5 separate regions of the Homo sapiens genome follow, and all the other regions are linked to region 3. Evidence: promoter capture Hi-C in 16 types of primary human blood cells and fetal thymus (Javierre and others, 2016). All regions are on one chromosome and are shown on one strand. The core of a region is centred on a gene start or on the middle of the fragment in contact, and the rest is flanking DNA. Distances in the headings are between cores, read along the strand shown. Region 1 overlaps POPDC1 (popeye domain cAMP effector 1). Region 2 holds the start of LIN28B-AS1 (LIN28B antisense RNA 1). Region 3 holds the start of PREP (prolyl endopeptidase). Region 4 holds the start of LIN28B (lin-28 RNA binding posttranscriptional regulator B). Region 5 overlaps POPDC1 (popeye domain cAMP effector 1).

Evidence for each region. The method cuts DNA at HindIII sites, captures the fragments that hold promoters and counts their contacts. A CHiCAGO score of 5 or more calls a contact.
Region 1: a contact is called between a fragment that was not itself captured here and the fragment with the promoter of PREP in region 3, in 1 of 17 cell types (endothelial precursors). The highest score is 5.4, in endothelial precursors.
Region 2: the fragment with the promoter of LIN28B-AS1 here is called in contact with the fragment with the promoter of PREP in region 3 in 4 of 17 cell types (fetal thymus, erythroblasts, megakaryocytes and 1 more); the score reaches 13.9 in fetal thymus.
Region 4: a contact is called between the fragment with the promoter of LIN28B here and the fragment with the promoter of PREP in region 3, in 1 of 17 cell types (fetal thymus). The highest score is 5.9, in fetal thymus.
Region 5: a fragment that was not itself captured here is called in contact with the fragment with the promoter of PREP in region 3 in 5 of 17 cell types (megakaryocytes, endothelial precursors, total B cells and 2 more); the score reaches 11.2 in megakaryocytes.

What each region holds. Positions count from the first base shown.
Region 1 is chr6:105,115,490-105,120,964 of GRCh38, forward strand. It overlaps POPDC1 (popeye domain cAMP effector 1), which reads right to left. Exons shown (of 8, transcript NM_001199563.2): 6 at 1,212-1,379; 7 at 197-338. Among named protein-coding and RNA genes, the nearest start is that of POPDC1, 19 kb to the right of the region's middle. The HindIII fragment of the contact is 658 bases long and covers 1,529-2,186 here.
Region 2 is chr6:104,937,314-104,942,478 of GRCh38, forward strand. It overlaps LIN28B-AS1 (LIN28B antisense RNA 1), which reads right to left and starts at 3,214. Exons shown (of 3, transcript NR_046407.1): 1 at 3,065-3,214; 2 at 2,865-2,900. It also overlaps a transcript of LIN28B not described here. RefSeq lists enhancers at 1-16, 17-517, 3,436-4,270. The HindIII fragment of the contact is 11,740 bases long and covers 1-5,119 here.
Region 3 is chr6:105,401,212-105,406,820 of GRCh38, forward strand. PREP (prolyl endopeptidase) reads right to left here and starts at 1,871. Exons shown (of 15, transcript NM_002726.5): 1 at 1,636-1,871. The coding sequence starts at 1,680. RefSeq lists a silencer at 1,579-2,148. The HindIII fragment of the contact is 7,847 bases long and covers 1-5,609 here.
Region 4 is chr6:104,953,498-104,958,409 of GRCh38, forward strand. LIN28B (lin-28 RNA binding posttranscriptional regulator B) reads left to right here and starts at 3,610. Exons shown (of 4, transcript NM_001004317.4): 1 at 3,610-3,763; 2 at 4,602-4,789. The coding sequence starts at 3,754. RefSeq lists enhancers at 2,623-3,560, 3,561-4,498. The HindIII fragment of the contact is 2,336 bases long and covers 1,648-3,983 here.
Region 5 is chr6:105,098,756-105,104,158 of GRCh38, forward strand. POPDC1 (popeye domain cAMP effector 1) reads right to left here. Exons shown (of 8, transcript NM_001199563.2): 8 at 1-2,458. The coding sequence ends at 2,334. Among named protein-coding and RNA genes, the nearest start is that of POPDC1, 36 kb to the right of the region's middle. The HindIII fragment of the contact is 8,172 bases long and covers 1-5,403 here.

The sequences.
Region 1 (5,475 bases), core at 608-3,107, 290 kb before region 3:
GTTCTAAAGTTGGCTTTTAGCTCATATGCAATATGGGGGAAATGCTAAACAAAATTTGATTGTTTTTATTGTTACCTTTAGGTTGCCTTTCAAATAGTTACCTGCAAAGTTATTTTTCTAATCAAAGTTGTCATTTGTCTATGTCCAGAGATACCCATCAGAACTCTGGAGTAGTATCAGTTTTGGGATAACTTACGAAGAGAGGACATGCTGGAGGTACCCCGAAGAAACTGGTGCAAGCCGTCGTCACTGTCACTGGAGCTGGCTATACTGTTCCTCATTTCCAACATGGAGATCTGTGTGCAGAGGCTGAGCTGATGTTCCAGCTTTTTGGCTTTCTACAAAGCAAAGTTTTAAGCTTTCTGAGAATTATGGGAGTTGAATCATACATTCCATTTAAGCAGCATGTACTTTTCCTAGAAATACGTTAGTGCATTTAAAAAAAAGAATACCTGATACATATTAGGTGGCCAATAAACATAAGCTATGATTTTTATTATTAGCTATTACTATAAATATATTATACAAAATCAAATATACTTAGTAGCCTATTTATAATAAGCTAAATAATTAACTGAAATAAGCACCAGCTTAATTTGATAAACAGTCCAGATAAGATGATTTTGAAAGGGCACATATACTCAATTGTCACTGGGTAACAGTACTTATCACAGAAACGACGTTTTTAAAAATTCTCTCTTGTAATCATTTTAATTTCTTTCTAAAAAGATACGGGAAAATTAAGATCAAATTGCAAATTGCTGAAGATCTATGCAGCTCTACACCTCTCCTTTCACTTTCTCGCCTGACCTGAAGATATGCAAGACTGGAAGACAGCAGGGTTCAAAGGCCAACTTCCTGATCGCTGGGGTCTGTCAGCCTTTCTCTGTCTGCAAACCTCCAGCTGCCCTGTCCTCCCTAACTTACTCCATCCTCCACCCCCTCTTACTCCTTTACCATCTTCCTTAAAATGCTCTTGATGAAGAGGGTGCCTTATCACCATAAATGCTAGTCCCTGACAATTGTAGACTCCTTACTAAGTAACAGCAAATCTAATCATTACAAAATACTTTCTCCTCTCAAGATTACAAGTATCCCCAGTACATTTAACATATGGCTAGTTACTAAAAATTCAGGAAAACATATTTCATAAAGTGAAATATACCTCATATACATATTTATTTAACAAAATAAACTCAGAGAACACTTACTTTATCATTTAAGGTGGGATCATTCAATGAGTAGAGCTTATTTGTGATGTCTTTTCCAATAAGATACCTAAAGATTTCATACAAGAAAGGTTCTGATTCCAGAAAGTATGTTAATCTTTCTCTTGACCAGCATAAAAATCTGCAGTTATCATCTGCAATAATGGTGACCTGCCAAAGAAACAAGCATGCAAAGAATAAAGTACATCTATGTATATGAATTATGACTATAGTGATTTAGAAAACTAGGAATGATTTAGTGGACATTATCATAGCAATGATTTGTCAAATTATAAAAAAAAGGAGACTCAATGCACACAAGCTTCTACACGTATAAAATTATGTTTTTTAAAAAAGCAATCTGCAGACTAAATAAAAGCAAATTCTCTGTGTTTCCTTGTTGTTTTGTTTTGTGAGGTCTGGTGACAGAAGAATGGCCACTGTATTGATACCGCTGCTGGAGCATGTATTCAACTGAGGATGCCACTGGACATATGACTTACATGAAATATTTCTTTACACCCTGTACATTACAATGAAGTTCAAAAATACAGCTTCAAGCAGATGAACTAAGATTCATGAGGCAAGTTGTGAAAGACCTTCTGCCCATCCATCTCTGCAAATATACACTAAAGACTGAGAAAACTTCAAGGGCCCTCGGCTGTTGCTGATGAATACGGCTGGTGAGGGTCCTTCTGTCATAGGTGTTTCTCGAGTGTCACATTTCAAGGTTAGATCCAGGGTAGCCCATTAGAGATATTCACAGACATCCCCAAATTAGCTCAGAGCTGGAAATCATACCCCCTTTCCTTCAGTATTGTATGTAGGAAAGCAGAAAGGTACTATAACTGCACGAAACAGAGCTCAAGTATCCCTCAAATAAATCCCTTTGCCAGAGTGAGGGGCCATGCCCTCACCATTCAGTGCCAGGAAGCCCTTCTTCCCATGTTAACACTTCCATCAGTTAACACAACTGCAAGCTTCATTATGGCTTAAATCCTATCATTAAATCCAAGCTCATCAGCTGACACATCTGCCTGTTCCAAGCACTGTGAAGGCAGGGATTGTGTATCTTCACGTCTGTCTGAATGCCTGACTTCCAACATGGAGTGGTGCTTAATGCATGACTGTTGTATGAAGGACTTAAGCAAATGAACACACAACATGGCAAAACCCTGGCTCTATAAAACATACACAAATTAGATGGACATGGTGGCATGTGCCTGTAGTCCCAGCTACTTGGGAGGCTGAGGTGGGAGGATCACCTGAGCCCAGGAAGGTCGAGGTTGCAGCGAGCCATGATCACACCACTACACTCGATCATACAGTGGCAGCAGGAGACCCCTGGGTGACAAGCGCGAGACCTCATCTCAAAAACAAAAACAAAACAAATGAACACAAATACCGCAGTAGGCAAAAACCAATGTCCATTAAACTGACATCCAGTCCTATCTGAGCCTCAGAGCAAATGTTTCTAAAGAAGCTCTGTCCCCTTTGTCACAAAAGTAAACACATTTCAGAGGACAAGGGGATATGTACATCTACCAAGACAGAAAATGAAAAACCCAGCTTGTCTCCTTACTTCAACAAGCTGAAATCTGATTGCTGGCAAATTAAGAATGTCTGGCTACTTTAAAAAGTGGTGTCAACATTCCTAGGAAAAAAAGCTTGTGTTTATTTATTATATCAAAAGTAGGAATTTCCAAAACCAAACGTATTTGTTTTTAAGAAATGCATCAGCATCTAAGACTTGATGAAACACTAAATTTCATTCATTCTTTCGATACATTACTATGCATGTACTTTATGCTAGATACTCTTCAAGGTATGAAGTTACAATGGTAAATAAGAAAGACAAGATGCTTGCCCCATGAAGCTTACATTCTAGTGGAGAAGGATGATAATTAATAAAGAAATATGACAATTTCAGGTGGCAGTAAGTGTTTTGACAACTATAGAACAGGGGAAAGTGGTCGAGAATGACTGGGGGTGACAATAGCACATAATGCCACTCACTTTGTATATGTACTTTTAAACTTTAAGGTGCTTTCATATCTATCATGTAAGTGGATCCTCAAAAATCCGTTTAAAATAAGACAAGTAATATTCTTCCCCATTTTTCAGATGCCAAATGAGAAGGACCAAAAAACTCACAAACACATATTAATTAGTGGTAGAGTGGCTCTACAAAACACACAAAAATTAGCCGGGCATACTGGCATGTGCCTACAGTCCCAGCTACTTGGGAGGCTAAGATGGGCCGATCACTTCAGGCCAGGAGCTCGAGACCAGCCTGGGCCAACATGGTGAAACCCTGTCTCTACTAAAAGAAAAAAAATTAGCTGGGTATGGTGGCAGGCGCCTGTAATCCCAGCTATTCAGGAGGCTGAGGCACAAGAATCCCTTGAACCTGGGAGGCAGAGGTTGCAGTGAGCCGAGATCGTGCCGCTGCACTCTAGCCTGGGTAACAGAGTGAGACTCCCTCTCAAAAAAAAAAAAAAAAAAAAGTAGTGGTAAAGTGAGCACTTTTGACTTTCAGCCCAAATCTATTTTCCCACCAGGTCAAAATCTACCCAATACACCCAATACTCATCAATACCATTTCATAGAAAGTATTTCTGCCTAGTGACTACAAGGTTGGCTGTGCAGTCCATCAAGAGCCCCTCATACAGAGAAAGGCTGAACACATGCCATGAAGCCTACATTCTAGTGGAGGAGGCTGCTAATAAAGAAGTAGGATCAAAAACATGGCAAGATTTACAGGAAGAGGAGTATAAGCAAACTGACCCTGGGGAATTCCCACAGACGGTATGAGGTGGGTGCATAAATGGAAGGCAACTGAAAAATATTCCTGGAGTAATAACAGAAAAGTGAGCATGGTGTCCTCATGAGGGCCCAGCCATGCACCTAAGTGCTAAAGACAGTTAGGACTGATGTTCCTTCGTTGTGCAAAGATGTCACCCAGGACTCTGGAAAAGAGTGGGTGAAGGAGTTAAAAGAGGAGATGGAAATCATCTATGAGATGAAGAAATTATATTTAGATGATACATAAGGCTGTTAACTTTTCTTCAGCCATCTGAATTACCTCAAGTTTCCACTGAGGCAATGAAACTTTTACAATGACACTGTAATTTCCTTAGCAAATTCACTTTTTATTGATGGTTAAAAAATTACTTTCGACCTGTTTAAGTTATTATTGAATATAAAATAATAGTATTCAAATAATAAGCCGTACTTAGTTCATATGAGTAACTTACAGGCCCATAAAAACATGGATTTGGGCCGGGCGCGGTGGCTCACGCCTGTAATCCCAGCACTTTGGGAGGCCGAGGCGGGCGGATCACGAGGTCAGGAGATCGAGACCATCCCGGCTAAAACGGTGAAACCCCGTCTCTACTAAAAATACAAAAAATTAGCCGGGCGTAGTGGCGGGCGCCTGTAGTCCCAGCTACTTGGGAGGCTGAGGCGGAAGAATGGCGTGAACCCGGGAGGCGGAGCTTGCAGTGAGCCGAGATCCCGCCACTGCACTCCAGCCTGGCGACAGAGCGAGACTCCGTCTCAAAAAAAAAAAAAAAAAAAAAAAAAAAAAAAAAAAAAAAAAAAAACATGGATTTGGTTGGAAGCCAGTAGTTAGAGTGCTGACTGAGGTCATTTTACTTGATTCCTAATGTTTCATTTCTACCAAATAGACAGTTTATTTAATGATTTCCTGTCACAACAGTCAAGCAAAGTGTATTTTTTATGAGAATATCTTATAAAGCAATATAAGAATTTTAAAAGTTTCCATAAAATAAATTTACTTCTTATTAGGCATTTCAGTAGTGCTATGCTTGAGTCCTTGTGAAGAATTTTACTGAAGAAATAAAAGCAAATACGGCAACAGAATACATAAAAGGACATCTTTCAGGTCGAGAATTAGACTAAGCATTTGCAAACAGGTTTGCCGTGATTACCACAAGGTACTGGATCAGTTCCTCCCTTTAGATTCCAAACCAATTCTACAGCCTGTCATAAAGAGAAGACACTGGGCTCCACCGTAGGAAACAAAGGTCTCTGAGGGATCTGCCACATGTGCTAGAATCAGAAACCGCAGTGTGGCAATAGGACTGGCTGACTGTCCTAAGGAAATAATTTAATACTTTTTGCATGCATCATACTGCATTTCATATACCAAACACTAAAATATCCTAGAAGTGGTCTATTCCACTGATGCTTATTGAGTTCTCCTAAGCACTAAAATAACACAGATTCAAAAGTGGCAGAGGAA
Region 2 (5,165 bases), core at 1,964-4,463, 460 kb before region 3:
CGCGGTGACCATTTTGCCCAGGCTGGGGTGCAGGGCCGCAGTCTCGGCTCGCTGCAACCTCCGCCTCCCGGCTGTCTGCTGAGTACCAGCAGCTGGGACTACAGGCGCCCGCCACCAAGCCTGCCTGATTTTTTGTAGAGACGGTTTCACCATGCTGGTCAGTCTGGTCTCCAACTCCTGGGCTCAAGTGATCTGCCCGCCTCGGCCTCCCAAAGTGCTGGGATTACAGGCGTGAACCACCGCGCCTGGCCAACTCTATTTTTCAAATTGTTTTAATGTAGTATAATAAATATAAAAGCCTAGTTTTTCAACATTGTAACACTCAATACTTGTAATTCGTAAGTAAAATGACGTGATGCCTGGGGTTTGCTTTCATACACTCCACTCATAAAAAAATAGAGGGCAAGAGAAATATGAAACACTGTATTTTATGTTTTCTAAAGGTCTTGGTAAGTATTTCCTTGAAAATATAATCAGGGTGCATTCAGATGCATTCATTAAAAAGCATTTCTTACACACTACCATATTCTAGGAACCGTTGTAGGCATTGGAGATATTAAGAGTAAGAGCCTGTTCTCTTTGGGAATAATTATTAGATATATTCTAAAAGTAAAGCAGGCCAAGCATGGTGGTTCATGCCTGTAATCCCAGTGCTTTGGGAGGCCAAGACTGCAAGGATATCTTGCCACCAGAAGTCTGAGAATAGCCTGGGCAACAGAGCAAGAACCTGTCTCTACAAAAAAAAAAAAAAAAAAAAAAAAAAAATTAGGCAGAAAAAAACCAAAAAAAACAAAAAAATTAGGCGCTTGTAGTCCCAGCCACTCAGGAGGTTGAAGATGGATTCTCACTTGTGCCCAGGAGGTCGAAGCTGCAGTAGCTAGGAAGGTACTATTGTACACCAGCCTTGGCAACAGAGTGAGACCGAGTCTCTAAAAAAGGGGAGGTTGGAAATAAGGTAAAATAAATTATGACCATGGTCCCAGGTAGAGGGATTCACTTTTATAAAGAAATTGCCAAGGTTCACTTTTAGAAGGAAATTGCCAAGGTCAGGCATGGTGGATCACGCCTGTAATCCCAGCACTTTGAAGGGCCAGGTGGGCAGACTGCTTGAGGCCAGGAGTTTGAGACCAGCGTGGGCAACATGGTGAAACCCCATCTTTACTAAAAATACAAAAATTAGCTGCGTGTGGTAGAGCAGGCCTGTAATCCCAGCTACTTAGGAGACTGAGGCACGAGAATCCCGTGAACCCAGAAGGTGGAGGCTGCAGTGAGCCAAGATTGCACTACTGCACTCAAGCCTGGGGGACATAGTGAGACCCTGTCTCAAGAAAAAAAAAAAAACCTGAAAAGAAAAAGAAATTGCCAAGAGCCATACGTAAATGATAAATTCCTTTGTTCTTATGGCTTTTCATTCATTTCTAATCATGCTAACATACTCCTTAATGCTTAGCCTATCAATGTTCATCATCGCCCCTTTCGGGTACCTTATATGAAATAATACATTAAATATTATAATGTCCCATTTTTTATTTGTGTCACAGGAGCATGATGGCATGATGATAACTAGTTTGAAATCAAAAAAAAGGATGAACTCTTGAGTGCTGGGATACTAACCCTGGGTTGTGTTTTAATTTTTTATTTTCTGTTTACAATTCTTCTCAGGACTTTAAATAGGTATTGCATAAATATACATCACACTTAAATGCTGAAAGGCTTACAAAATACCTAGAAACATAGCTATTAAAAAAAACAGTTCATTCTGTAAGTGCATTTGTAAGCTCTACTCATAAATAAAAAATTACTATAATGCTTTAAAGTCAAAGCATATCACATTTCAGATGGTGATATAATTAATTGCTGTTTTTCATTTCTAGTAATCAATGTCCACATCTTTTTCCTCTAAATTATATTTGAAATCATAGTGTAAATTGATACAATGATTATAACTAAGAATTGTATCTGAAAGAATCCTCTGTACTACTTCGCAAAGTAATGTAAGAAATACTTTACATACTTGCCAGTGAAAAGGCATCTTTAAAGTAAGTGGTATTCACTCCACTAGCTCAATGGAAAGTTGAGCAGCCATCCAGGGAATTTGCTGAAGGTGGTAGCCAATGTGGAAAATTCTTAGGAGGGGTCACAACAGGATTTTGCTTCTGATCAGTTTGTCTGCATTGATCTCACTCCCAGGCCAGAGATGCTTTTTTCTAGACTGTGGTTACCCTTGATAGATACATTGGTTTCTTAATCCCAATCCAGAAATTGGAAGGGAGAAATGTATCATCACACAGCAACGGTTTGGAGATTTGCCTTTTAGTCATACAATAGTAGCCAGTGAACTGGCCTTTATTAGTTACTTTCAAATGAAAGTGTTTTCATTTGAAAAGTTTTCCACTTTTAATTTGATTTCCTATATTTTAAATTTTTGAACAAATTTTTAGTTTGCTGAAATATTTAATCCCTTTAGTCAGTTCCACAGAACAGTCCAGATTACAAGGCGATATTCGATTTTTTAGCTGGTCAGATAATGATTGACTAGTACTGTTTAGTTCTGAAAGTCTGATGAGAAACTACCCAAAGTATAAGAAAGAACTATAAAATTATCAGGTAGAAAATTATAGGAGAGAAAGCAGTGATATTTTGGGAACATATACCAAAATACCAAGCTAAATATGTGTATATATCACAGTATTTTTGGCCCCAGATCTTGTGGCTCTTTGAGTGATGATGATTAAGTTTGTATCATCCAATTTGACGTTGAGTATCTTATTGTTTAGGAAAAGAAACAGCTGACAGTAGGTTCCCCAAACTTCTGGCATTGTCTACCATGCTCACTGGATTCTGAAATACATGACTATTATTACCTTGAATTGTGCTGTTCGGAATGATGTCCAGGGCATCTGTAGTAAAAGAAAAGAAGACCTGGGCTTCAGATATGATTTTGTTACCTTCTTACAGTTTTACCGCACCAAGGTGTCAGGTTGGGGAGCAAGGAGTAGCATCGTCCCGCCTCCCTCCAGTCGCACCCTAGGGACCGCCATGTGAGCTTCCCTCCCAGACTGACGCTGCGCGCGGAGAGCCGGGAGTCACAGGCCCAGGCACTCGCAGCCTCCACCAGAACAAACGGCGGCAGCGGCCGTGCGCGCCCACGGCCTGCGCGGGGACGCGCTTCGGGGGTTCGGGGGCGCCCGCGGTAAAGCTCCACCGCGGCCGCGCTCGCCCGCCCGGCCCTGGAATGAATGGAAGGTTCAATCTCGCGCGCTCGGCGCCGGCAGCCAATGACGCGGCCGGTAGCGGCGGCGGGCAGGTGTGCGCGTGCCGCCGGCTGACGCAGGGCTCCAGTCGAACCGCCTGGTGCCGCCGCCGCGCCCCGCGCTCCCCCACCCGGCTCAGCCCCCTCCTCCCCGCGCCCCGCCACTCGCCGGGCTGCGGCGGCGGAGTGGTGGCGACAGCGGATTCCGTGCCCGGTGGCCGCGCGCCGCCCGGCTGTTCCGCGTCCCCTTGCCGGCTCACAATGTGCTGACCCTCCCGGCCCCGCCGCGCGCCTCACAGGTCTCTCGACCTCCGCGCTCCCTCAGGAAGTGACAGACTCCAGGCCCCTTCCTCCGCCCCGTCCTTCGGGACTGAACGCCACACACGTCCTCACACCCTCTCCCCCTCTCACACCCAGGCTAGCGACGCGACCATGAGGCCCCGGAGGTAAGCAGCCGGCCCCGCGGCCGCGCGAGTGCGAGCGTGGCCGGGTGTGCGTGCGGGTGCGGACGCCGCTCGCGGTCCCGAGTCTGGCACGTGAGCAACGTCGAGGGGAGCTCCGTGCTGAGGAGCAGGAAGAAAAGAGGAGGCGCGAGCGCCAGGGAGGGGCGAGGACTGGGCACCGCGGGGAAGTGACAGGTCTCGCAGCAAGTTGCGGTTCGGAAGCCGGCGCGCCGCGTCTTTCCTTCGCCGGCCCTGATTTATTGCCCCGGTGCTGCCGCTAAGACGCGGGCAGTCGATGTACTTCCGGGTTCACACCTTTCTCTCCCCGCTCGGTGCTGCTGGGTCGGCGCCCGGTGTGGGCACTGCGTTGCCACAGCGGCCGCCCAGGCTCGCCGCTGCGGTTGCTGCCGGGCGGCCAAAGCCGGCTTGGAGCGGGAGGGCGGGGCGGGGCAGGGCGGGGGCGCAGGCCACGCGGGGGCGCAGGGCGCGAGGGTGCGGCGCAGGCTGGGGTCCCGGCGGCGGGTCCTCGCGGCCGGTGCCGGCTCGTCTGGGACGCACGGGGCCGCGCCGCCAGAGGGCGTGCGCACCTCCCTTTCGCGCTCCGCAAGCCGAACTGCTTTGTACCGGGCAGGCGTCGGGGATCGTTTTTGCTTTGGTATCGGTGATGTAAATTCATGAATTAAAATTAAGGATTTTGAAAAGAACGGGGAAGAACGCACTTGGATTTAGGTTGTTTTTGAAAAGGAAAAACCAAAGAGGAAATGATACGTTTGCAGGAGCATTAACTGACTACTGACTGGAACATTGGATGCGGGTGCTTTGTGAAGATTTGTACTCCAAAAACTTTTTTTAAAAATTGCACGTTGGTAAATATTGAGTGTTTTCGAGTAAAATCTAACAGTATGTATTTAGTGCCCTTATTGCGGAAATTTCTTAAATGTAAGTAATAGTAAGTCCGCCATTTTGAATTGTTTCATGTAACACAGAATGAAATCTTAGGTGCCTGTGTTTCCTTGAGTTCCCTTCAGTTCTTTGTGGGTTTGTTTTCATCCGTAGGTTTTTAAGGTTGCCAAGTGTCACTGTTCATGGAACTAAATTCTCCACTGTAGATTTTTATACCTATTATTGTTAATGCAAGGGGAAAATAAATTATACTCCTATTCTATTGTAGTTTTTTATTTATCGATCACAAATACTGTGGAAGTGAAAATTACACCTGACAACTAGTATTAGAATGAATTTAAAACGTTTTACAACATTGCTGGGAAAATATGACTTAAAGTGATTTTTAATCAAGAAAATATTAATGTTTCTTTTTTTGGTGCTGGTTATTACCATATTTACTTAGATAATGCAAAAGTGCTTTTTTAAAAAGCACATTTTTACGTCCAACAATAAGTATAAAACATCACAGTTTTATGAAAGCTTTCAGGGAAGATTTGAAAGTTAAGGGTGAATTCTTGGAAATA
Region 3 (5,609 bases), core at 621-3,120:
GATTTAGGCACCCACAGTGGTGAAAAACTAACAAGTAACTCTAAAAACAAACTTAAAACTGCACTTATCAAACCACAGAATGGGTAATTCTTTATATTCTGATCCTCAAGAACCAGAACCAAGAGAGTCACCTGGCTTCCCATTACTAGTCTGGAACACTGCAGAGCTAGACTGTCACATGAATGAATGAATGAATGACAACATTCCTACTGCAGAAGCAAGTAAGCCCTATGGTCAGTCCAAATATTTCTCATATGAGAAAAAAGGCCCATAACAGGTAAAAGAGCTGCTAAAAGTCACCTAACTAGTGAATGACAGAACCAGAACTAGCGCTCTGGTCTTTTCATTTAGTCCAGCCTCTTTCTCCATTCCAGCAGGATCACTTTACTCCCATATTCAAAGGAAACAACCTTTAAACCACAGGAATAGAGCTTCTTGAGCTGTTAGGGTAAATTTAATAAGCAAGCAGCTGAGCAGACTGAGAAAACATGGTTACCAGATGGCCACTGGTCAAAGAAACCATGAATGAATGCATCAGTGTCACTTGGAAGTCTTAATTTAAAACAGTATGTCCTTTACTCCGAAGCGTCAGCACCCTTTACCCCAATGTAGCACGTGCTTTAAAGTAAACACTTTCTGGCATAAATTGGGAAAGTAAACAGAAAAACATTAAAACTGTATCACACAAATACATACTTATTCTGATTATATTTTAAGTAATCTGAGAAATGTAGCTATTAGTAAGAGAATCACGGCCACAACATGTGGATGCAATCCAGTTCCTAAGTCGTCAAATTCACGTTTACACAAAAAAGGTGTCTGCCCAGAATTCCGCCTACTGGATCTCAACAGTTACCTTGAGTTCATCTGCAGCTTAGGCAAATGGTGGTCAACTCCGCCACTAGACAAAACTTACTCATTCTGAAAAAGGTCAACCCCTCTCCCTTCTAAGACCTCCTCTCACCCTCTCTCAACTCCTTTTCTTGTTTAAGAAAACATGGATCAGCACGGCCACACTATGGGGTCACTGCTCCGCCTTCCCCATTTCTGTCCGGGTCTCTGGCATCCCCAGGGCCCAGTGCGCCTCATCCGACCTGGGACAGGGTAGGCGCTCAACACACCTTTTAAAATCGAACGAATATGCTTCAACTCTAAGGACTTTAAAGTGTAAGTTTTAAAAGTTTGTTTTCGTTTTTAAATGTGACATCACACACACACACACACACACACACACACAAACACACACACACACCCCAGCGGACACTTTCTCCTACCACCATATTTAAGCAAGAGGCTTCGCCAGTCAAAAAAGCAGTGACACCGTCTGTCTTCCCACTCCCTGAAGACACCCATTCTACCCGGGCGTCTGCCCTTGACCCCATTGATTCTAGGAAGCGGCCGGGCGGCGCTGCCCACAGGCTCCGCCGCCAGCACTAGCAGAGTGACCGCCCGCGGGACCCCAGCGCTGCAGAGGAGCCCCGCGCCCCCGGCCCAATTCTCCCAAACAAAGGCCGAGGGGGAGGGGAGGGACGCGGGGGTCGAAGGCCTACAGGAAGAGGAGCTGCGGGTGCCACGGGTCAGGCAGGCTGGGCACCTTTGCCCGGGAGCCCTCTGGGCGGAGGCAGAGATACTTACGGCGGTCTCGTCGCGGTACACGTCGGGGTACTGAAGGGACAGCATGGCCGGGGACAGGCAGGGGGCAGCGTGGAGGGGCGCGGGCTCCGGGAGCGGACCTGAGCTAGCCGGGCTGGCCGCGAGGCGCGGCTGGGGCGCAGGCAGCTGCGGGGCGGCCGGCGGCAGCGGGCGGCCGGCTCACGGCCAGAGCTAGCACAAACGGACTGGCGGCGCGGCGGCGAGGACGTGCAGAAAGCAGGAAGCCGCTGTCTGCGAGGCCGGGAGCCCCTCCCCGGCGGGCGGGCCCAGCGGCGGCGGCGGCGGCAAGAGGGAGCGGGCGGCACCGAGCGTGCGCTAAGGCCGGCGCACAGCTCCCTCTGCAGGATCGCCGGCCGCGCCCGCGCCGCCCGGGCGCACGGAGGAGCACGCCGGCTACGCGCTCGCCCACGCCCGGCCGCCCGCCCGTCCTCTGCGCCGGGGACAAGTCCTTCCACCGAGGCCGGGTCCCCGCGCCTTCCCTAGCGCCCTGCCTCTCTTTGGCCGCGCTCGCAGGACCGCCTGTAGGAGAGTGAAGCCCCAGGGTTTCCTTGCTGATGGAGTCCCCCACCTTCCCCAGCCTTCCTGTTCCCGGGCTGGTTACGGCGGCGAAGGGAGACCTTGCCTCTCCCCAGCCTTGGAAGCAGAGGGCTGGAGGTGGCCTTATGTCCACTGCCTGCGACTCTGGACTTGAAGGGAAGAAGTAATCGATCATGATGACCGTGAAAGAAACACGTCTCCCTTCATCCCAGGACCCCTGGTGGACACTGGGTGGTTTAGCATCCGGACTATGGAGATGCTTTGGAGGTGTTGGCAGGACTACGGTTGAGCCCTTATTTGATATTTACCGATTGAGAAAGAACCAAGATTAAGAGGCCTGGAACTCATCAGGGGTATTTTATTTATCCTGCCTTTTCCTCATTTCCTCTCCTGCTGTCATGCTTGTTTATTGAGCACCTACTGTTTATGGGAAGAAAAGATAATAGACAAGATACTTGACCTCAAACCCATGAAAATTTAATAGTTACATGTCATCATCCTCGGGCCAGCAGCGGTATGTGTTCTGGTCTTGCTTCCTGGACCACCCAGAAGAGACTTTATAGCCCCAGCCATCAGGGGTATAGTGTGTGCCCAGTGTGTTTTCTATCCCTGGCTTCCAAAAAGTCCTGGAAGAAAGAATAGGTGTGACCAGAAAGTCCTTCACCTCCGGAATCTAAGTGGATATGGTAACTATTATAAACTTGTGTCCTCCGTCTCTTTTGTGATATGGTCCCAATTCCATGCCTCACCCTTAGTTCACCATTTCTGTTCATAGTGATGTGTCATAATCATTTTCTGCATCTGATCCCAGATACCCCCTCCTGGGGCAATCTGAGAATCCTCAATTCTGGGAGAACTCACGCTATTGATAACAAACTTTGTGCAAACACGGGGGCATAGCCCACTACAGCCCAGAAGTCCCAATTCCAGTTCCCACCTCGTGCCTTCCCTGGCTGTCACCTGACGCAGGGACTGGCAGGCATTGTCTCCTCCTTCTGCCACTGTGAGGGATTTTTTAAAGAGCAACCCAGGAGCACTTGACCCAGCAGACCCCCTAATGATAATATTAATGCTTATGGAGTGTTTTTTTCAGTGTATCAGGAAACTATCTAGAACTAATGTCCCTATTTTATAGTTAAGGAAAACGGGCTGACTTTTGCCCAGGACTTCACAAAAAGTGAAAAAGTAGAGCCAGGATTCCAACCTAGGTCTCTCCAATACCAATGCTCATTCTTAACCACTCTGACGGCCTTCCTACTCATAAATAAGTAGAGATACTCTAGAGTCTACAGGGCACCCATTTGCAGGGAAAACTTCAATTTAGCAGGACCTAAAGAAAATGTGGGAATTGTGGTACCCAAAGGACAAATCAAACCTAGGTATCATCCTCTCTTCCCTTTCAGTCAGCCGTTCTGGTGCCCAGTTCCTCTGGGCCCTGAGAGGTAAAGGTTTGTAGTGGCACAGACAGTGCAAGAGGCTCCCAGCAGTAGGTTGTCTGCATCTGGAGTGAGATGGAGTGGGAGGGAAGATGGGAGAGCACCCTTTCCCCTCCTATTGACCACGTTAGTTGCACTTTTGTTTGCCAATGTGTTGTCTCCTTTAATCCTTATAGCAAAGACCATTTTACAGATGAGGAAAAAGAATCTCAGCAGCTTTAAGGGAATGAGTTCAAAGTCATCACACAGCTAAGACAATACAAGATTCATATTCATAAGTTGACTGCAAAGTCAACTTTTTCCATAGACAATGCAGAGAAAGGAAGTATTTGAACTATCTCAGAATGGAAGTGCCACCTCCAGAATAAATACCAGAGCACTCTTTGACCTCTGACACTGTAGACTGTTTTCAGGGGAATTGTAGAATTTACACTGTGATAACTCATGCTCTAATTCAGAACCCTAGGCCTTTGGGAGAATGAGGGTGAGCAGAGACATAGAAGGACTTCCAGGGCAGCCTTCAGCCTCTCCTCTGACCTCAAACTTTGTGCCCCACTCAGTTAAGAAGAGTCACCCTCTGAAGAAGGCAGGCTAGTGATCATTTACTGCTGCTTGGCTGTCTCTACCCCACCTCAAGTTGCTTATCAAAGCAACCCCCACCCACATATGGTCTCCAAGAGAGGATTTCTGGTAAATGCACAAGGATGCCCACCCAAGGGGCGAAGTGGGGACTGAAATCCATCTCACTCTCCACTTGCCACACTGCAGACAGGTGCTGGCACATTCACCTGGAGGAAGGGGTGTCTTATTCTCAAGGGACTGCACCTTCCTGGGTAAAGGATATTTTTCTAATTCACACAAGGGTGCTGTCTTGTTAGCACCCCTTAGAGATGGATGCTTTGAGTGCTGCCTGGATAATCCACCTTTTAATTTGACTCTGGTTTCCAGGTAGCTAGCTAACATACTGACTAATTGGTGGAGTGCAGTCATTTCACACTATGTTTCCCCAAAGATTTATGTTGCTTTTTCCAGTGTGACTTTTAATGGAAATTCTTATGTATTCTTGTATATCTAATCTTTGCAAGGCATCATGAAGTGTGAAATAGCACCTAGGATAAGAGTAAGATTCTCTTTCAGGCTCTGTCACTAACTGGTTTCCTAACTTTGAATGAGTCCATCATATCATCAATATTTTTATTTAGAAATTGAGACAGTTGGGTTAGGTGGTTTCAAAAGAATCTAAGATTCTTTAATTCTGAGTGGGAACAGGAGATACAGGAACCTCAAAACTAACTCTGAATTAAGAATAAGATTATCCTGAGGGAGAATTGTCCAAACGTTATGGACAGATGCAGGTAAGATTGGGCAGTAATTGTCTGTCTACTGAAAAGACTTTCTCCATAATTTTCTTCTGTTTTCAAACCATTCACAAGAGAAGATTTGGCTCTAGGGACTATTGTTGGGCCTGTAGTCCATACTAAATGCATGGATCTGACCTTTTCAGGAGCTATAACTGTTCCCTTCTAATACCCTTCTCTCAACATGGGCATATGGTTAAAAGGAGATGTGAAGTGTCTGGAATTACAGCTGTGAAATCTAGGTCTCCACCTCATTCTTCCCCTTCTCAGTTTAATGCTTGGCTGAATTAAGCACTAATATGAGAGGATAGGGCTGAGTTCAATCCAGATTAAAAATGTGGGCAGAGAAAGTAAATCAAGAATGAATCTGAAGTATTTTTCTACTTCAGTTCATGGAACTTATTTAAAGCATTTCTAATGAAGTTCCTAAGATAGGAATGTTTTTAAATCAGGAGAGAGGAATATTTTTTCTTAGGCCGATTGTAGGAGAAAAATCAGGTGTGGCCCCCTGCATGAAAAATGTTTCATTTAAGTAGAAAAAGATGAAATGATCTATTCATCCACTGTTTTAAATGGAGAACTGAGAACTTAAAACTATTCAATAAATACAACATGTAATAGAAAA
Region 4 (4,912 bases), core at 2,360-4,859, 450 kb before region 3:
TTTCTTTTGTTTGGTGTTCTTGGGGACAAGATGACAAATGTAAAAGTCCCTAAATTAGTGAGAAATCACCAGCCTTTGGATCTACCCCACTTAGGGAGAGGAGATGGTAAAGTGACGAATAAAGGGAAAAGTGACTGAGGAAAGAAAGGTGAGAGGAAGCTGCAGAGGCAGGAGGTGGAGGGAAAGCGCAGATCTGCTGGCGCGGGGTCTGGGGTCTCAGGTCTCGGCCGCCTGGGGAGCGACCTGCCTGGAGAGGCGGGTTGCGATGGCAGCGCTGGGCTACAGACCCCGCCTTATTTGCGGGGAGGAGAGGACGGGTGGAGTCACTTGCCGCATTGCCACAGCCCCTCCTCCTAGTTTTAAGAAGAACCGAAGCATTGTTTCTGCTTTAACAGAAGTCACTCATTCCTTATAATTGAAAACAACGACGGTGGGCTCTGGCACCTCTTTCGGCTCCTTGTACTGTTGGAAAAAAAGTCTGGGAAAACGTGTACCTTGTTTTTTAAATGGGGATGATTGTGATAGCCAACAGGCATATGGTAGGTTATTTCCTTGCTTTTTCCCCCCAGTACATTGACGATTCTTTGTAGCTACTTGAACTCATTTTAAAGACATTTTGAAAGAACTATAAGTCAAGCTATAAAGTATTTGGCTTTTGCAGGAATAAAACACCCCTTTTGAGTCAAACACAGGTCTTTCAGGCACTAAAACCAAGTAGGAAATGAGAAAAAAATTAAAACCAGAAGACTTCAGGAAAGTGACAAATTGGAAAGCATTCTAGAAGACTCATAGGACGACTTTCTGTGAAAGAAGCACTCTAGGAGCTTTAAAAGCTTATGGGCAATTTATATTATAAAAGGATTTTAGGCTCAAAAGTTTTGGGGGAAGGCACAGAAAAAACAGTGCCATATTCTTAAATTGGTGAGTGATTATTTTGTGTTTCTCAATGTGTCTCCTTCCTTTACTTCTCTCCCTTTCCAACTTCCTTGCTTTCTTCTTCCTTTTCCCTCTACCCTTCCCTCGCCTCTTCTCTTCCCCTTTCTTTTACCCTCCCCCAAGGTATGTAAATGCATTTGTCTTAAATTCTTCATGAACGAATTTTAGAGGATTTTTCAGGGTTACCAGTTGGAAAAAGCCTTCTACACAACTTGAAAGGCTGATGTCCCTCTCAGGAAATGAATGAGTCGATAACCTCTGACACCAGTGACCACTCCAGTGAACCTTACCTTAATTCCACTAATACTGGAGGCCCCCAATCAGGCAAGACTGTGAATCTCATAACTATACTGTACAGTGTAGTTCAGTTATGGTATTCCACTTTTCACCCACATGTTCATAAATTTGAATTTCATCAAATTTAACAATAAACAGATTCTGAATCTACCTACATTATTATGCTTCTGGTTTTATAATGATTAAACTGTTTTCTAATTAAAAGCAAACTTAAATGAATATTTTACAAAGCTAAACTATACTGGCCTGTGAATTTTGTGATCATTACTTTTATGTAAGTAATAGCATTTCACCTCAATTTACATGAATACTTTCTGAGATTTTTTTCCTCTTATACCAGATGTTGATTTTTTAAAGTGATTATTAAAATATGAAAAAATATAAATTACTTTCTCGATTTCATATTATGTCACAAGCTTAGCCTGTAATGCCATCATTGAGATTACTTTCTTGTCAGTGTAATCAGTATAATAGAAGTAATTTCTACCATCAAAATAATGCCTAGTAAATGTTTTGTTAGTAAATAATTTTTTCAGAGCTTTGAGCTTTTGTTAAACTTTCAAAGTCATTGGATTTTTGCACCTTTTCTTTTCTCCCTAACAGCTGGCACAGGATTATTCCTCCCAAAATAAATAAAATGAGAAAGTAGCCCTTTTTCCTGAGAAATAACAAAAGGAATAACAGACAAAAAAAAAAATCTTTCCAAATTGATTAGTTTTCATTAAACCTTTTATCAAAAACAGCTGAAAATAACTTCTATTTTTTATACATCCATTTTCCAATCTGAGCCAATTAAATTTATATTTAGTTGTTTAATATGGGGAGGGAGTATAAATAGGTGTATACAGCTTTTTCCATAGCTCTTCGATTCATAATCCCTACATTTTAGCTTGTGTGAAACAGTGCTGGAGTGTGGATGTGTTTGAAGAGACTGGGAGGGGGATTGCTGGCATGGTGGGGGAGGGTCAACTCGGTAGCTTTGTCGAAGGAAGTGGTATCTGAACAGTTAGTTTCTTGGTAAACTGCTTGTTTAAGAAAATGGGGGGTGGGGTAGGCAAGTCTGGTGGTGCATTTTAAGGTTTTAAAATAGCGATATTTTATATTTTAAAGGAAATAAAGTCTTTTTAGTTAATCTATAATATTTATTATAGTATTCGATAAGGGCAGAAATACTGTTGCCAGCATCTTGTAATCAATCGTTTGAACCAGTTTGAAAGGTAAAGGGGGTAGGCATTTTGAAACTGGGGGTCAGTTGAGGAAGGACAGTAGGAGCTTCATCCGTTGTTACATTTTCGTTTATTCAACTCTTCTAGCCATTGGTAGTGGACTTTTAAAATGTCAGGGTACAAGTCAATATGATATGAATTTACCTTTTTTCTCCCACTTGTCCTTCTTTCTCCACCCCACCCCCTGCCCGCGCCGGCTTTTTTTCTCTCCCACCTCTTTCTTTGACTCTGCTGCCGCCTATCCTGGCGGCTCCTCTTCACCTCCCCTGCCTGGCGATCCCCTCCCCCTCCTGCCCTATGTCCTCCAGCTCTTGGGGAACAATCGCCACTGATTGAGGTTCACTCTATGTTAGGCTGGAAAACTGGGCTGTTATTTAGGAAGTCATTAATCACATCTCCTCCCCCGGAAAGAGATGGCAGAGAAACCTGTGAAGTACAATTCCTTACCAACCCCCTCTAAAATTTTCCAAAATGGTTTACCTAAACACAATTTGACTATATGAAGGTGAAAACGATTTTTCTAGTAGGATTTTATTTTAAATTTGAAAAAATTTCGGGCATAATCAGGTAATTTATGTGCCTCTGCCTTTTCCTAGGTGTATGTTTTCATTATCTAAAGTTTCATGGGGATGTAATTAGGTTTAATTAGATCTTTTATAAATTATATATTTTCCTCTAAGAATTGAATTAAATATGAAATTAGCGTTCCAAGCAGGTTTACTGCCATGGAATAGCTGAATTCTTAAGGGGAAAAAAAGCGTTAACATCGGTTGTTTTATTTAAACGACCCCCTCCCATGATTTTAGTCAGGCTTGTGTGTAAGGCACGCGTGTGCACATATATGACTGCCTTTTTTTCTAAATCTATGATTCACAAGGTCCCTCCATTGTGTTTAAGTAGAAGCACGAAATCAGCATTCTGATTTATCCTAAAGAAGCGTTCCAAATTGTCTTTAAGATAACATGTTTGAGTTTTTCGTGTTCATTCATAAATTATTTTGATGTCAGCATAGATGAAATGGCGATTGGTTATCTCTTCCTCTTGCCAGCCCCTTAAGGATACGAGGTGAAATTAGTAGCAAGAAAGCATGTAATTGACAAAGTCACGTGTGCTCAGGGGGCCAGAAACTGGAGAGAGGAGAGAAAAAAATCAAAAGAAGGAAAGCACATTAGACCATGCGAGCTAAATTTGTGATCGCACAAAATCAAGATGTTAGATTGATGCAGAAGATCACTCCGTTCCAAAGGGAAAGTTTTCATCTCACGAGTTTGGAGCTGAGGGCCCGTGGGGCAACATGGCCGAAGGTTAATTTTCTTTTCTATTGTTTTACTGTGAATTTCTTTCTTCTTTTCTCCTCCCCCTCCCCCTCTCCCACCCTTCTTAGACCGTCCCCCCCTTCCCCTTTTACCCCAATACTGGGCATTACCTCCCAACCCCCCATCACGCAGTGGGGCTTTCTGCAAACCTATTGTTATAGATCTCCAAAAATGTTTTGTACCGCCCACACTGATTCACAACTTGAAAAGCTTTCAGGGGGCTATTGTTTGAATTGTGTGAGTGTGATTAAGCGCAGTTTCAGTTAGTGATTCCAAGAAAACTTTTATACACCTGCCCCCTCCCCCATTCCACCCCAACTTTAATTGAAAGTTATGGGGGGGAGGGGAATGCACATTGCAAATAACGCTGGATTCAGTGCTGCCCCATGTGCCTTAACTAGTAGCTCTAAACCATCTTCACGATTTCTCTTTCCTCCTCGTGCCCGCCGGAGAGAATAGTTTCGCTGAAAATTTCTCTTTGTCAATGGGATCAGTATTAAATCAGCAATATACAAGTAAAGTATCGCATGCTGTAATGTAAAATGTGGCTGAAAAATGGAGTTAAATGAATAAGTACACGTATGTATAGAAACGTGGAAGTTGGTGTGATCGATAGAACAGTGTGGCTTCCCCCTCCCCCGCTTTCCTTTTAACCCTTTTCATTTTAAGTATTTTCTGTGGAGAAAAGAAATCAAACCATTAAAAAAAATTTTTTTTTTCTGTTACCCTTCCCCCCCAACCCCAGGCAGGCAATTTTTTTTTTTTAATCTTTGAATGCACATTGAATGGGAATACAGACTGACTTTTTTGTCCTGTTCCTTCTCAGGCGGGGCTAGCAAAGGTGGTGGAGAAGAGCCCGGGAAGCTGCCGGAGCCGGCAGAGGAGGAATCCCAGGTTTTGCGCGGAACTGGCCACTGTAAGTGGTTCAATGTGCGCATGGGATTTGGATTCATCTCCATGATAAACCGAGAGGGAAGCCCCTTGGATATTCCAGTCGATGTATTTGTACACCAAGTAAGCCAAACTTTTTTGTCCCCCTCTTCATCTTTTTCCATGTGGAGGAGCTGATCGGTAGTTATGCCAATAGACGTACGATAAGATGTCCTTCGGTATATTGAAAGACAAAATCTTCCCTGA
Region 5 (5,403 bases), core at 1,064-3,563, 300 kb before region 3:
CCTGAGAGAGCTTTATAATTTCAAGCCTAGGCTGTCATTCACCTTTGCTTCATTTCTCCAAAACAAGCTCCTAATTTAGCTACCTGAAGAGACTGCTGCAGCAGTACAGTGAAAGCAGCCTTTTTTTGAAATAGGGTCTCACTCTGTTGCCCAGGCTGGAGTGCAGTGGTGTGATCTGTGCTCACTGCAACCTCAACCTCCCAGGTTCAAGTGAACCTCCCACCTCAGCCTTCTGAGTAGCTGGGACTACAGGTATGTACCACCACACCCAGCTAATTTTTTTTGTAGAGATGGGGTTTAGCCATGTTGCCCAGGCTGGTCTTGAACTCCTGGGCTTAAGCAATCCACCCACCTTGGCCCCCCAAAGTGCTGTGATTACATGTGTGAGCCACTGTGTCCAGTCGACAGTAGCCTTTTTACTGTGATGTCAATAAACCAACATCTGAAGATGACAGGAACTGGATTCAGAGTCTGTGTAAATTTTCTCAATGAGTGACCGAGCATGTAAATTTAACTCAAATGAAATTACTACAATAATTGCTTTAAAAACATATTTAGGAAAATGAGGTGACCCTAGATGAGCTTATTTATATGTCTCCTCTAACAGAAATCACCTCATGGTAAGAGTTGCTTCTTTTGGCTCAGTTCACCTGAGAACAACTTCATTTGGAACTTTTCTTAGCCATTTAACGTAACAGGAGACTGACTCAAAGTTGGTTCTAGTGGATGAAGCAAAATAGACATGACCAGCATGGCCAATCAATGAGCTTCATTCAACGGAGCGTCCTGGCCAAGTGCCACAGCCACGCTGGCCAGACACACTGACCAGTTACGCATTTCCCACCAGCCAAATGCCACTGTTTACTAAACCATGATTTCAGTAGGAAAAAGAGCTCTGGAATCAAGGCCCTCACTGCAGTACCTGGGTGGGGTGTCCATGGCCTGGCCTGTAGTAAACCCTCTGCCTTCCACTGTGTTCACGTTCGCAGCTCTGGCACTGGGGCATCTGGCACTTTTTTAAAAGAGATGTCTCTGCCTCTAGATGAACAATCTGGAACTTCAGAATACAGATCAAAGAATGAAGCAGATCTTTCAGTGGCCTCATCCTGTGGCACCTGCCCAGCCATTTAACTCCCCTGTCCTCCCACCCTACATAAAGTGTTTCCCACACCAGAGTGTGCACAACATGGTGACTCCAAATCCCAAGGAAGTTGAGTTTAGCTGGAGGTTAACCCCGTGCTCAGAAACCCATCTGTTATCTTTCCAGCTTCAGGTTTCAGAGCAGTTTATAAATGGCATAATACAAGGGTAATGTGAGTAAAATCTGAGAGTTTTGTTCATTATCAAGTTATCCACACAGTGCCCAATTAAGTAAGGTGATCTAGTGGAGTAATACTTCTGGCCTGGGAGAAAAATAAAACCAGTCAAATCACACCTTTCTCTAAAATGTCCCATTAAAAAAATATGGAATAGGCCGGGCGCGGTGGCTCACGCCTGTAATCCCAGCACTCTGGGAGGCCAAGGTGGGCGGATCACGAGGTCAGGAGATCGAGACCATCCTGGCTAACACAGTGAAACCCCATCTCTACTAAAAATACAAAAAAATTAGCTGGGCGCGGTGGCAGGTGCCTGTAGTCCCAGCTACTCGGGAGGCTGAGGCAGGAGAGTGGCGTGAATCCAGGAGGTGGAGTTTGCAGTGAGCTGAGAATGTGCCACTACACTCCAGCCTGGGCGACAGAGTGAAACTCCATCTCAAAAAAAAAAAAAATTATATGTATGTGTGTATGTATATATATGTATATATATATATATATGTATGTATGTATGTGTGTGTGTGTGTGTGTGTGTGTGTGTGTATATATGGAATAAAGTTTGAGATTCCCTGCTTTTTCATGTTACCTTAGCCTCAATTTTAAACTTACATTGTTTGTTAAAATTATCAAATGGACAACCTCATTGCTATGGAACAAAAAAGACTGTGAGGAAAAAGAATCATAACTTGGAAAAAAATAAGTGAAAAGGCATTGAGAGATTGCTAAGATTTGTTAAGTTAAAACAATAATATATCTAGAAAAGACTGTGAAAATATATATCTCAAAAGAGAACAAGGCATAGTCAGAAGGCTCAGTAAAACAATTACTTTAAAAGCTGACTAATAAAAAGGGTAAGTGAAAGAACTCTTCCATCCTTGACCCTTCCTCACTTCCTCCCTCCGACTCCACCAGTCTGGATGCACTAAAGCAGAATAACCTAAAAGCCATGAAAAAGTGCTGGTATTTTTCAGGATCTCTTCAAGACACCTTCCGTCTTGGTAACCTGAATTCTCTCTCTGATCAAGGCAGCTGATGGACTTTCAATGTATTTGGAGATGCCGGTTCAAAAACGTCATCATCATCTTCTGCTCCTTCTTCTATCGGTTTCATCTTGGCAGAGGCTCGCTGGTGTGGGGATGACACATCTGTGGAAAGATACAGGAGGGAAAACCACTGAATGCACAATCTACCCAGACCCTGGTGTGATATATCAATTATAAATTCCAACTGGAAAATAAAACTGTAGGAATCTATCACTAGCAGCACCAAGAACACAATTTCCATAAACCATTCTATTTCAATCCAGCATCTCAATAAAATAACCAAGTCAAGAAGAGACTCTCAGTCAGGAGCACAGATGAGGGACAGATTCCACCGCATGTGCTTGGATGATCTGAGCTTCTCAAATATATTCAGTTCCCAGGGGTTTGCCCCACAGTCTGCTTAGGACTCAGAACGCATGTTCCTACATTAATATCATACATGGGGGCTTGAGTCTCATATTAGCCCTTGAAAGTTGATTTAACTCCTAATTTCCCCAAAGAATACTTCTATTCCAAAATTATGGAACCTAATCACCATCTGTAATATCACCTAAAACATTTCTTGCCTCCACCATGGAGTCCAGCCACCCACTGGGCTTACACGCAAAGGAGACAGGGGAAGAGGAAGAAAGGCCAGGCATTCAGGAGGGACAAGCCAAGTAGAGGAAACGCAATCCCAGGCAGCAGCAGGAGAAAAGGCAACCCCAGGGCCTTTTAGGATGCCATTTAATCAAAGGAACCAGGCAGCAATTCATTCATTCAGTCACTCACTGGTTCATGCATTCACCAAATGGTTATCAAGCATCTACCATATAATGGATACCATGCTTGATGTAGAAGAAAATACTATCTAAAAGTAAGAGTAGAAGTCATTATCAAAAGGCCTCTCAAGGTGCCTAATGAGCAGCTAACGTGACTGCATAAACTCCCCTCCTTACAGTCACCACCATCACTGTCAGGATCCATGTTGTCCGGGTTTCCACCTGCTCTGCCCACACCCATATCTTCGCTACCCAATCACAGGGTGGAGTGGCATTCCGGCAGCCCACAAATGCTGAACTCAGCTGGGGAGAAGGTTGATGGTGGAGGGATACCGGGTGAAACCTGGCTCTTTAAATACATGCTCACAGCAAAAGCGAGTGGAGGATCTATTAAGACATGAAGCAGATCTGCTACAAGATGACCACAGAAGTTTGTCAAGATCAGCTGTCATTCACTGGCAGGAGTCAGGAGCAGACAGCTGGGTTGGCCAGCACAGGGAGAATGCCACAACCAGCAAGGAGGGCCAAGGGCTATGAGCATGTCACACGGCTGCTCCTGGAGGGAGGCTGAGACAGCGGCAAAGGCTTTGCCCTGGCACTCAGCCATGAACGAGTGGTCATTCCTGGCCCCTGGTATGGCACAGGGGGAGGGAGCATGCAGAGTGGTCAAGACCAGAGGCTCAGCAAACAGTTCCAGAGTTCAAATCCCTACTCTGCAACCTGCACTCAATTACTATACCTTTCTAGGCCTCTGTTTCCATATCTATAAAAAGGGGATATTCTTAGGATCTGCTCCATGGGATTGTTAGGAGGATTAAACAGAATAATGCATAGGATGTACTTAGCAGGGTGTTGGGCCTATAGAACATGTGACTAAATGTCATTTCTTATTAACTGTACAGTCACTGCCGTACATCTGGGGAAATGCTACCACCAGTCACATCCTCTAACATAAAAAAATATGCAGGGCTAGACTGTGGTACAGCTAATGTATACTCGCTGTATATATACGGAAATTGTTCACTTACAGACATTTACAGCAAAAATACTGAGTCTCTTGAATGACAACTATTGACATAAACTGTAGAAAAGAAGCATCTAATAAAATGGTCCAAGAACCCAATTCTGCACAGGGCACAGCATGGGAAGTTCTCAGGCGAGTTCTTCCCCTTTCCCATGCAGGTGACATCAAACACACGAAACACAACCTCTACTTCAATGTCTATTCAAATGGCAATGAATTCTATCTGTGCGACCTTGGACAAGTTACTTCTTTGTGCCTTAATTTCCTTACCTGTAAAATAGGAATAATAAGAACAGCACCTATTTCATATGGTTGTTATAAGGATAAAACAACTTGATATTTGTAAAGTTATTAGATCAGTGCCTGGGATGTAATAACCACTTTGTAAATATTTGTAAGAACATAAAAATCAATTACTATGGTCTTTGGAAGGCTATGGACTTAATAATGAGAAAATTTGTTAAAATTCATCATTGCTCATAAGAATGGCCAATAAAGGAAATGGGCCTTGTGCTCAAATGTGGGTTTGTGTTTCTCAATCTTAGCTCTCTTGAGTGTGGCAAAATTGTCTTTAAAAAAAAAAAAAAAAGCCCTGGTTTCCATCATATTTTTAGCCTTAAGTTATCATTGGGTCTCATAAATATTAACTTAGGCTGAGTATCTACAATGAGACAAAACTCTCAGAACAAACAATAAGATGGCATGTCTAAGAGCATTAAATCAAGTCAATAATATATAGTATATAGACATAATTGTGTAACACGCTTAACAGAAACATACCCAGTTTATTCTGTCTGAGGAAGTAGGACTAACTGGTTTCTAGTTTTTAAGCTCATCTATCATACCAGGAAGGACATCCTACAGTTATATTGAGGCAGGTATCTATACTCTGGAGCCACAATGGTATCTGACCCTCCCAACTCTCTCACCTATACTTTGCATTTTTTTTCACTGAGAGAAAATGAAGGGAGGACTCAACACAAATGGAAATGGTTAAGTGAGAACTTCCCAAGAGCTTTCAGCTTTTCTGTGAAAGAATTTATTCTGCTCCCACCATATTTGCTGGGGCAGAAGAAGAGCTATGGAACTTACTATATAACATTAAAAGGATAATGAGAGTGATTCACAATCCTTAGGGTGACATCCAGGGTTCTCCAAGTTGGGTCTCCCTCCCTCTTCCAGTCCAAGCTCTTGCAAACTCACTGCTCTTCAAATCCAGCCCATCCTCCTCTTTTCCTCTTGCCTTTTTTCCCTCTACTTGG